4 separate regions of the Homo sapiens genome follow, and all the other regions are linked to region 4. The links are contacts of gene promoters, found by promoter capture Hi-C in human tissues and cell types (Jung and others, 2019). All regions are on one chromosome and are shown on one strand. Each heading gives the region's core, a stretch centred on a gene start or on the middle of the fragment in contact. The rest is flanking DNA. Distances are from core to core; before and after follow the strand shown. Region 1 overlaps GTF2IRD1 (GTF2I repeat domain containing 1). Region 2 has its middle 16 kb from the start of GTF2IRD1. Region 3 holds the start of GTF2IRD1 (GTF2I repeat domain containing 1). Region 4 holds the start of LIMK1 (LIM domain kinase 1).

Evidence for each region. Contacts are between HindIII fragments. The study calls those that stand out against the background at their distance.
Region 1: a fragment that was not itself captured here is called in contact with the fragment with the promoter of LIMK1 in region 4 in 4 of the 25 tissues and cell types used here (bladder, liver, lymphoblastoid cells and 1 more).
Region 2: a fragment that was not itself captured here is called in contact with the fragment with the promoter of LIMK1 in region 4 in 2 of the 25 tissues and cell types used here (mesenchymal stem cells and spleen).
Region 3: a contact is called between the fragment with the promoter of GTF2IRD1 here and the fragment with the promoter of LIMK1 in region 4, in 1 of the 25 tissues and cell types used here (stomach).

What each region holds. Positions count from the first base shown.
Region 1 is chr7:74,584,499-74,587,198 of GRCh38, forward strand. The region is part of intron 22 of GTF2IRD1 (GTF2I repeat domain containing 1); the gene reads left to right. Among named protein-coding and RNA genes, the nearest start is that of MIR10525, 10 kb to the right of the region's middle. The HindIII fragment of the contact is 6,527 bases long and covers 1-2,700 here.
Region 2 is chr7:74,436,363-74,439,062 of GRCh38, forward strand. No RefSeq gene overlaps it. Among named protein-coding and RNA genes, the nearest start is that of GTF2IRD1, 16 kb to the right of the region's middle. The HindIII fragment of the contact is 4,196 bases long and covers 1-2,700 here.
Region 3 is chr7:74,452,456-74,455,155 of GRCh38, forward strand. GTF2IRD1 (GTF2I repeat domain containing 1) reads left to right here and starts at 1,451. Exons shown (of 27, transcript NM_005685.4): 1 at 1,451-1,721. RefSeq lists an enhancer at 1-266 and silencers at 1,152-1,501, 2,004-2,073. The HindIII fragment of the contact is 14,749 bases long and covers 1-2,700 here.
Region 4 is chr7:74,082,518-74,085,217 of GRCh38, forward strand. It overlaps LIMK1 (LIM domain kinase 1), which reads left to right and starts at 1,287. Exons shown (of 16, transcript NM_002314.4): 1 at 1,287-1,528. The coding sequence starts at 1,474. RefSeq lists enhancers at 1-665, 661-770, 666-1,344, 1,831-2,100, 2,612-2,700 and silencers at 1,041-1,310, 1,431-1,480, 1,591-1,640. The HindIII fragment of the contact is 14,309 bases long and covers 1-2,700 here.

The sequences.
Region 1 (2,700 bases), core at 115-2,614, 500 kb after region 4:
CTCAGTAAATCTGCCTTTTACATAAGATAAAGTAAATAGAGTAGAGGAAGTCATATAGGCATTTGTCTTGGGTAGACAGAGCAATGATTTCTATTCTTATCTTTGTCCCCTGCCTGTGAAGATAAGCTGTGAATTTACATGGCCAGGGTGAGGGAGGCCACCAGGGGAGCTAGGTGGCCTTCTATCTTGCAGCCATCTGTTTAGGAACAAAAGGCTATTGCGTGACTCAGTTCCCAAGCTTAACATTTCCCTTTGGCATAGTAAGTTTGGGGTCCCATGTTTTTTGTTTGTTTGGGTTTTTTGTGTGTTGTTGTTGTTTTGAGATGAAGTCTCGCTCTTGTCCCCCAGGCTGGAGTACGATGGCGCGATCTTGGCTCTCTGTAACCTCCGCCTCCCAGGTTTAAGCGATTCTCCTGCCTCCGCCCCCGGAGTAGCTGGGATTACAGGCACCTGCCACCACGCCTGGCTAAATTTTGTACTTTTAGTTGAGACGGGGTTTCACCACGTTGGACAGGCTGGTCTCGAACTTCTGAGCTCAGGTGATCCACCCACCTCGGCCTCCCAAAGTGCTGGGATTACAGATGTGAGCCACCGCGCCCAGCCTGTTTGGTGTTTTTTTTTTTTTTTTTTTTGAGACGGAGTCTTGCTCTGTCGCCTAGGCTGGAGTGCAGTGGCGCAATCTCAGCTCACTGCAACCTCCACCTCCCAGTTCAAGGGATTCTCCTGCTTCAGCCTCCTGAGTAACTGGGATTACAGGCATGCACCACCACGCCCAGCTAATTTTTTGTATTTTTAGTAGAGACGGGGTTTCACCATGTTGGCCAGGCTGGTCTGGAACTCCTGACCTCAAGTGATCCACCTGCCTCGGCCTCTGAGAGTGCTGGGATTATAGGCGTGAGTCACCGTGCCCGGTCTGGGCCTCGTCTTTGAGAGGCCTGCTAAGCTTCTTTCTGTCCTGCAGGTTTCGTAGAGCTCTGACTTTGAGTCTCGCTCTGTCCCGACACAGGAGAAGACAGAGGTGTGGCATTGTGGGCTGAGAGCAACAGATTAGAGGAAACTATCTTAAAGATTAAGCCTTCTTTCTACAGCTACTGTAGGGGAGCCTGGGCATGGTGGTTCACGTCTGTAATCCCAGCACTTTGGGAGGCCGAGGTGGGCGAATCACCTGAGGCCAGGAGTTGGAGACCAGCCTGAGTAACATGGTGAAACCCCATCTCTACTAAAAATACAAAAATCAGCCAGGTGTGATGGTGGGTGCCTGTAATCCCAGATACTCGAGAGGCTGAGGCAGGAGAATCACTTGAACCCAGCAGGCAGAGGTTGCAGTGAGCCAAGATCGCACCACTGCACTCCAGTCCAGCCTGGGTGACAGAGCAAGACTCTTCCAAAAAAAAAAAGAAAAAGAAAGAAACTGTAGAGGAATCTGAGACCTCAGGAAACCCAGGGCTCATGGTAGAGTGGAAAGACCAGGGCTTTGGGGTTGACACAGAGTACTCCTGGTGCTTAGAGGCTGTGTGACCTTGGGCAAGTTTCTTTACCTCTCTGAGCCTCTGTGTCTTTGGCTGCAGTGTCTAGGAAAGCATCTGCACACAGTGATGTGTGTGATCCAGGCCATCCTTTCTCTGTTCTGTGCATGCATGGCCATGCCTGCTGAGAATCCTGCCACCAAAGATTCCTCAGTGGCATGGGGACAGATGGAATGTGCTGTTGCTTCCCTGCAGGCTCTAGGAGCTGGTCCTTGGGCCCAGGACTCCATCACTGTTGTCTGCATGGATTTGGACAAGGGTGGCCTTGATTCTTCCCACATCCTAGTCCTGAAAGGAAGGCCCGTGTTGGGTCACAGGAGAAGACGAGGGTTCTAGGGGATGTGGAGCGTGGGGTCTTTGTGTGGCTGAATTAGAGGCATTACTCCACGAGATAGGGACACGGGAGGAGGACGTTGTCTGGAATGGCTGATGTTTGCAGTGTCTCTGGGCACGCAGGGGGGCTGGCGGGCCGTGCCTGAAGACAGATCAGCAACTCAGAGATGTGCAGAGATTGCTGAGTGTGGGTGTGGACGGACCAGGCCAGGGACCTGCAGGGTTTGGGAGGACCTGAGGTGGTGGGTGTTGGAGCCCTGGGAAAAGGAGGAACCAGGCCAAGCAGGTGCCCAGCCTCTGTCCTGTGGGAAGCTCCCTGCTCTTTGGGGCAACCCCCACATGGGGAACAGGGCCTCCATTCTGGCAGCTTGCGCACGGGAGGCCAAGCCACCCAGACGGGGTCAGCAGACTCTAAGCAGCACAGAGCACCACGCCAGGAGATGCAGTTCCCAAGGCAGCCTCCTAAACAGAAGTGAGCTCTTCCCAGAGTTTTCAAGATTAAAAGAGCCAGACACAGTGGCTCACAACTGTAATCCCAGCACTTTCGGAGGCTGCGGACAGGAGGATCGCTTGAGCTTAGGAGTTCGAGAACAGCCTGTGCAACAGAGAGAGACTCTCTCTACAAAAAATTTTAAAAAAACTTAGTCTGGCATGGTGATTCATGCCTGGAGCCCCAGCTACTTGAGAGGCTGAGTGGGGAGGATTGCTTGAGCCAAAGAGTTCAAGGCTGCAGTGAGCTATGATGGCACCACTGTACTCCAACCTGGGAAACAGGGTGAGACCCTGTCTCAAAAAACAGGAGTCAGGCTGGGCACAGTGGCTCACGCCTGTAATCCCAGCA
Region 2 (2,700 bases), core at 7-2,506, 350 kb after region 4:
TCCTAAGCTAGTTCCCTCCAGCCCTTTTATAAGGCACCAATCTGTAGGCTCATGCTCTCATGACCTAATTACTTCCCAAAAAGACCCCACCTCTCAATACCACCACCACAATGAGTAAGTCTCAACATGAATTTTGGAAGAGACATCATCATTGAAATCATAGCATTCTGCTCCTGGGCCCCCAAAACTCATGTCCTTTTCACGTTCACATATGACATACATTCATTCCAGCCAGGCACAATGGCTCACGTCTGTAATCCCAGCACTTTGGGAGGCCAAGGTGGGAGGATCACCTAAGCCCAGGAAGTCGAGGCTGCAGTGAGCCACAATTGCGCCACTGCACTTTAACCTGGGCAACAGAGTAAGACCTTGTCTCAAAACAAAACAAAACAAACAAACAAACATACTACTCATTTTATCCCAGTAGCCCTGAAAAGCCTTAACTGATTCTAGCATCAACTTTAAAGTCCAAGTCCAAAGTCTCATCTAAATATTATCTACCTCAGATATGGGTAAGACTCTAGGGTGTGTTTCATCCTGAGGCATCAATATGCCTCCTGCTGAGTCTATGAAATCAAACAAGTAAAGTGCTTCCAAAAGACAACAGTGGGCCAGGTACAGGACAGATGTTTCCATTCCGAAAGGGGGAAGTAGGAAAGAAGGAAAGGATTGAAAAAAAAAATAGAATAAGGAAAGAAGGAAAGGATAATAGATCCTAAGTAAGTCCCAAACCCAACAGGGCAAACAACATTAAATTTTCCTGCTCTGTCGCCCAGGCTGGATTGCAGTGGTGCTAGCATAGCTCACTGCAGACTCAGCCTCCTGGGCTTAAGTAATCCCCTGGCCTCGAGTGGCTGAGACCACAAGAACATGCCACCATGCCCAACTAAATTTTTTTTTTTTGGTAGAGGTGAAGTCACACCATGTTGCCCAAGCTGGTCTTGAAATCCTGGGCTCAAGCAATCCTCCCAGCTCAGCCTCCAGAGCAGGTGGCACTATAGGCGTGTGCCACCACACCTGGATAATTTTTTTTTTTTTTGAGACAGAGTCTCACTCTGTTGCCTAGGCTGGAGTGTAGTGGTGCAATCTTGGCTCACTGCAACCTCCACCTCCCAGGCTGAAGCAATTCTTGTGCCTCAGCCTCCTGAGTAGCTGGGATTACAGGCATGAGCCACCACACCCTGCTAATTTTTGTATTTTTAGTGGAGACAGAGTTTTGCCATGTTGCCCAGGCTGGTCTCAAACTCCTGGGCTCAAGTGATCCACCTGCCTTGGCCTCCCAAAGTGCTGGGATTACAGGTGTGAGCCACCGTGCTCGGCCTCTTATTAATCTTCTTATTACCCTTGGTATTTTTTCTCTCTCTCCCTTTTTTTTTTTTTTTTTTTTTTTTTTTTTTGAGATGGAGTCTCACTCTGTCATCCAGGCTGGAGTGTGATGGCGTGATCTCAGCTCACTGCAACCTCTGCCTCCCGGGTTCAAGCGTTTCTCCTGCCTCGGCCTCCTGAGTAGCTGGGATTAGAGGCGCACACCATCACACCTGGCTAATTTTTCTATTTTTGGTAGAGACGGGGTTTCACTATGTTGGTCAGGCTGGTCTCAAACTCCTGACCTCATGATCCATCCGCCTCAGCCTCCCAAAGTGCTGAGATTACAGGCGTGAGCCACCGGGTATTTTGTCTTAAACACACTTTTACAACCTGGCCAGTCTGAGAATTTTTCAAATCTTTATTCTGCCTCCCTTTTTATTATAAATTCTGTCTTTAGTTAATCCCTCTCTTGTTGCATTTTACTATCAGCAGTTAAGAGCAACCATGTAGCACCCTGAACACTTTGCTCAGAGATTTCCTCCAACAAATATATTAGTTCATCACTCTTAAATTCTACTTTCCACAAAGTAGTAGGACATGAACAAAATTCAGCTAAGTTCTTTGCCATTTTGTAACAAGGATGACCTTTTCTCTGGTTTCCAATAAAATATTTCTCATTTCTGTTTAAGACCTCATCAGAATTGCCTTTACCATCCACATTTTTACCACCTTCTGATTATGACCACATACGTAATCTCTAAAAACATTAAGGCTGTCCCTGCAGCTTTCCTTTTCTTCTGAGCCTTCACCAGAATAGCCCTTTACAGACCAGCCTCTACCTATTAGTCAGTTTCAAAGCTGCTTTCACATTTTTAGTTTTTGGTTATACAAACACCCGACTCCTGGTACCAATTCCTGTCTCACTCTGTTTGTGCTGCTATAATAAAATACCTGAGACTGGATAATCTATATAAATAATAGAAATTTATTTCTAATAGTCTGCAAGCTGGGAATGCAAAGATTAAGGCACCAGCAGGTTTAGTGTCTGGGGAGGGCCCCAGTCTTTTCTTCTAAGATGGTGCCTTGAACACCATGTCCTCACATAGCAGAAGAGCTGGACGGGCAATAAAGGGCCTACACTAGTTCTTTCCAGCCCCTTTGTAAGGCACTAATTCATTCACAAGGGTAGAGCCCTCATGAGTTCACAAGGATAAAGCTCTCAATCACTTACCCCAAAAGGCCCCACCTCCTAATACCACTACAATGGAGATGTTCAACATGAATTCTGGAGGGGATACCATCATTCACATCATAGCAAGGCCGTAGATAGGCCCACACACCACCCCTCATTTAACCAATAAAAATCTATTGAGCCGGGCATGGTGGCTCACG
Region 3 (2,700 bases), core at 201-2,700, 370 kb after region 4:
GTGGGGGCCACAGGATGGGCTGAGTCATGAGTCACACAGGTCCAGGTGAGTCAGTCGGTTGCCCGAATGCGAAAGTCTGAAAAACATCTCCAAAGACCAATCTCAGTTTCCACAATAGAGATGCTATCTATAGGAGGAAGTGGGGAACTCACAAATCTTGTGATCTCTCGCCACATGACTCCTGAGCAGTCAGATTATAAAAACGATGCGTAGGTTTTAGCAGCGTCCAGGCCCCTCCCATAATCCTAATCTCACGGCCTTTCGTTAGTTTTACAAAGGTGGTTTTGGTCTCTTGTATAAAAAGCAGGTTAGGTTTAAGGAGTAACTATTATCATCCTTGTTTCAAAGTTGAACTATAAACTAAATTCCTCCCCCGGTTAGCTTGGCCTATGCCCCGGAATGAGTGAAGACAGCCAGCGCGTGAGGCTGGAAGCAAGATGGAGTCAGCCACGCTAAACTTCTGTCACTGTCCTAATCTTTGCAAAGGCAGTTTGGCCAGGAGGCTGTGGGGAGACCTTGTGGGTTTTGCCAGGACCTGGGAGATTCTCGATCTATGTTTGGCTGTCCTTCTAAGCCAGAAGCTCCCTGGGGTTGGGGCCTGCCTGGGGTGAGTCCCTCCCTCCCTGCCATGCCCAGTCTAGCCAAGGTCTAGTTCAGGGATCAGGGCACCACGTGGGGGAAGGACTGTGTTCCTTGTGCTGAATTAGGATTTATGGCTTTGGGGCCGGATGGGAGGCGTGCGCACTGATTCAGTAGGAGCGCTGCTGTGGTGTGTGTGTGGTTGGTGGGAGCGGGGCGGGCGGGGGGCGGGGGGGCTGGTTGGGGGGACAGGGGTAAAAGCCTATCAGAGGGAGGTCCCATCAGACAAGATGGGACCAAGAGTCCAGTTGGCTCTGCTGCGACTTTCGGCCTGTCACTGCCTTCCTGCACATCTCAGGGGTGGGAGGGGGACAAAGGCTGTAAGAGTAAGAGGTACCTGGCCCAAGCCTTAGGACTAGAACCCGGGCCAGGCGGGAGTGACCAGCCGGGACACTCAGGGCCTCCGCGCGTTCCAGCTGGGTGACCTTGACCCTCCAACTTCAGCCCCCTGCGCCCGGCTGCTCTCCCAGTGGTGGTGGGGAGCGGTGGGGGTAGACGGGGGCGCGCCCAGGCTTTTCTAATCCGGCGCTGGTGGGGGAGAACCGAGGGCGCCACCGCCCCTCCCCGCAGGTCCGGGGCCGAGGGGTGCGGCGCGCTCTCCCCACCGCGGTGCCCAGGTCCCCGGGACGCAGGGGCGCTGGGTAGCAAGGGGGGTGCGCAGGGGCGCGGGGCGCGGGGCGGGCTAATCCCGTATGTAAATGGCAGCCAATGGAGGGTGGTGTTGCGCGGGGCTGGGATTAGGGCCGGGGCGAATGGCTGGCAATCTTACTGGGATTACAGAACAAAGAGCCTCCCCGCGCTCCCGCTCTCCGCTCCTCTCCCCGCGCCGCCCCGCCCTCCGCCGCAGCCCGCGCCGGGGGTGGGGGCCGCCGAGCGCCAGCCCCCCGGCCGGCCGATTCCCCCCCCGCGCCCCCTCCCCGCGCCTCCCTCCCCGCCCTCGCCGCGCCGCCGTCCTCGCCTCCCTCTGCCTCTCCTTCCCCCATTCTCCCGGATTAATTAAGGAGGCAGCGGCAGGAGGCTGAGTCCTGGCCGCGGGCCGGGGCCGGGGCGCCGCTGGCAGGAGCGCTTGGGGATCCTCCAAGGTAGGAGAAACTTTTGCGGGGGGCGGGCACCGAGGCCCTTCTCCCCTTCTCCCCCACCCCCGCCCCCGATCCCCTCCGCCTCCGGGGGGGGGGGTCCCCGCCCCTCCCCCTCTCAAGGTGTTACAGGAGCTGGGGCCGGCTTTTGGGTGCCCGGGGAGGCACGTGACTGGGATTATAATTCGGGCCCGGGGGGAGGGGAGGGACGGCCGCCCCCCACCTGCCCGGGAGGGGCCGGGAGCTGGGAGCTGTCACCCCCTCCCTCCTTGCCACCGGCTCTTCTGGAGGTGGGGGGCGTCCCGGGCCGGCGCCCGCAGGCTGCTGCAGTTGGCGAATGAGGTCAGTCGCGCTGCCCGCGGTGGCGGGCGCCGGGGTGGGAGCAGAGGGGGCTGGGAAGGCCGCGGTCCCCGCCTTTCCCCCCTCCACCTTCTCCCGGTCTGGGCCAGCCCCTGGCCCGCGCCCCCAACTCCCAGGCGGAGTCCAGTCCAGCCAGGATTGCCCCAGCAGGGTGGTTCCTGTAGTGGACCCCCCGCCCCGGCCCCGGGGAGGGGGCTGGCCTGTGTGGTGGTGGCCGCTGAATCCCGGGTGGAGGGGACTCAGAAGGTGGCAGTGGGGGGACCACAAAGGGTTCAGAGGAGTAAGTTGGGGATACTCGGTCTGTGGGTGGTCTCTGAGTTCCTGCAGATGGGTGGAGAGGACAGAGGAGGGGCCACAGGGTGCTGAACACCCACCCGCCCCATCCTAAGTACCCTGGGCATGATGGGCTTGACACCTCTCCTGGGCTCCTCACCCCTGGCCAGCAGCCAGGGAGTGAGACCCTGCCTCGCCTGGCGTGGGCCCAGGGAAGGGGGCCGCTGTGCCGCTGAGAGTTCGTTCCACCCTCCTGGCAGTGCTGGAGGGGGCTGGAGCTCTGGCGTCTGGCCTAGTGACCCTACCTCCCAGGACCAAGGTCCTGCGGTGGGAGTCTCCTGTGTCCCCATCC
Region 4 (2,700 bases), core at 37-2,536:
ACCTGTAATCCCAGCACTTTGGGAAGCCGAGGAGGGTGGATCACCTGAGGTCAGGAGTTCAGGACCAGCCTGGTCAACATGGTGAAACCTCATCTCTACTAAAAATACAAAAATTAGTCGGTCATGGTGGTGCACGCCTGTAATATCAGCTACTCGGGAGGCTAAGGTGGGAGAATTGCTTGAACCTGGGAGGTGGAGACTGCGGTGAGCCGAGATCCCGCCACTGCACTCCAGCCTAGGCAACAGAGCGAGACCGAATCTAAAAAAAGAAAAAAAAAATCTAGTATTTTCTTCCCACCCCACGTAATTGTTTTGCACCCAGGGGTGAGTGCCCCCCACTTTGCAGACGTGCCTAGACCTCTCCCCACAAACATGATGACTAGAGTTGGAGCTGGGCTAGCGCTGCCTCTTGTTCACTGGGTTCACGTGGGCACGTGGCTCCACTCCGGTCACTGCTTCCTGGGCAGAGGGATGACGTGGAAGGTAGACCTAGGGGGGACAGGGTTGCTTCCTGCCCATGTCCAGCATTCTAGAATTGTCCACATCTAGGCAGGGCGTTCCACCATCAGTGCTGGACTGGACCACCCAATTCCTTTGGACGCTTGACTCAGCCCAAACCCGTGCTCCCTCCAGGACCCTGGGCAGGGCAGCCCCAGCTCCAGGTAATCGGCACTGAGAAGAGTACACCTGTCACCGCCTGGCAGGGGCTCGCTCCTTTCTCTGGTGCTGCTCATTCGCGAGGCCTGAGACGCGGACCGTCACCTTCCCCGGGCCCAGCCTGGCCTCAATGCAGGCCTCAGAGAGAGGGACAAAACCCGGCCCGCCTCCCTCCCCTCCCCAAGGCGACCACCAGTGTCCTGGGGGTCCACAGGGCCTCTCCAGCTCTGATCCGAGTTCCCGGCTGCAGCTGGTTTGGGTCTGTGGGGGCCTCGCGCAGGGAAGCGGAGGCCCCTTCTCTAGGCTCCTACATCCTCCTGGCCTGCCCCAGCAGAGCTAGCGGCCCTCCGAGACAGCTGGGCCTCGCAGCTCCCAGCCGAGGCCTGTCGCTGGGAGAAAGAAGAATGAATGAAGGGCGGAAGGGGCGGGGAGGGGCGGGGCGCGCCGCGCCAGCTCGCGGCGCCCCCAGGCCGGGCCGCAGCGGGGCGTGGCCTCTAGAGGCGTGGCCTTGGGCGTGGGGGCGGGGTTTTCTGGTGGGGGCGGGGCCGCGCAGGGCCGTTCCCGCCGCCGGCCGCCCGCGCCCCGCCCCCGTGCCGCAGCTCACAGGCCCCGCCTCGGTCCGCCCCTCCGCTCGCTCCCCAAGCCGCCGCGGCGCCGAGCCGGTTTCCCCGCCGGTGTCCGAGAGGCGCCCCCGGCCCGGCCCGGCCCGGCCCGCGCCCTCCGCCCCCGCCTCCCCGGGCCGGCGGCGGTGGGCGAGCTCGCGGGCCCGGCCGCCCCCAGCCCCAGCCCCGCCGGGCCCCGCCCCCCGTCGAGTGCATGAGGTTGACGCTACTTTGTTGCACCTGGAGGGAAGAACGTATGGGAGAGGAAGGTGCGCGGGCCGCGGGGTGTGGGGCGAGGGCCTGGAGGGGGTGCCCGGGGCAGCGTGGGGCACGGGAGGGGGCCGGGTCTGCCAGGAGGCCGCGCCCCTGCCTCCTCCGGGATGAGCTCGTCCTTACGAAGCCCGCAGGCCCCTCCCTGTCCCCCTCCCGCCCGGGATCCCCCTCCCCGGCCCCCGGCGAGCTGCCCTCCTGCGGGTCTGGGGGCCCCTGGACCCTTTTTCCTCCTCCCACGTCCCCCCGCGAAGGACTCCCAGACACTGCCCACCCCGCGTCGGCCTCCATCCGCGTGCTCTGTCCACCACCCGGGCCTCGCCCTGGGGCCACCCTTTATCCAGTCTCGGAAGAAAGAGCGGCTGGGGAAGCCGCAGCCCCGGGTCCCAGTGGCCGCCGGGCGCCTGCCCGGCTCTGTGACCTTGAGCCAGGCGCTGACTTCCTGGTCCTCAGTTTCCCCTTCTGTACATTTGGAAACTGGGTAGTTGCCCCCCCGGTGTCGGTGATTGGGGGCCAGATGGGTAGAGCGGAGATAGGCGTCCAGGAAGCCGGAGGCCGTGTACTGCGGGAGCCTCATCCACTCTCCCTGTCCGTGCCCCAAACCCGGTGCCTGCCCTCAGTCTTGGCTGGGAGCATGACTCATCCTAACCTCCTCTTTAGCCCCTTCTCCCTCACTGGGGCCCAAGGCGCAGTACTGCACTGCAGTTAGGGTTCAAGGACTCCCCCAGCCTAGGACAGGGTCTGGGGGCCCCTCCTTGGATCTCCTTCGCTGACCTGTCACTTAGATCCACCTGGCCCCAAGGCAGGGCCTGACTCCACACCTCCCCCTGCCACCAACTCTTCCCAGGCCCATGAAAACCTGATTGGGGTAGGGGCCCACCTTCCTGTAGCCCCTGCCTACCTAAGGTACCTGCGTCTTCACAGAGGGTCAGGCTGTTGTGGCCTTGGGACCTAGCTATGTGACTGGGCAAGCCATGCCATCTCTGGGGCTCAGTCTCCCCTTCTGTACAGTGGAGAGGGGCAGGTCTGGGGCATTTTCCAGGGCCCACCAGCTCCAAGGGTGCCAGGCCCCAAGGATGACTAAGCATGCCTGTGGCTGGCTAGAGGAGGTGCCAGGCCTCCCTGGGACAGGTGTCTGGGAGTACCCAGGTCTGCAGCCCCCTCCCCTTGC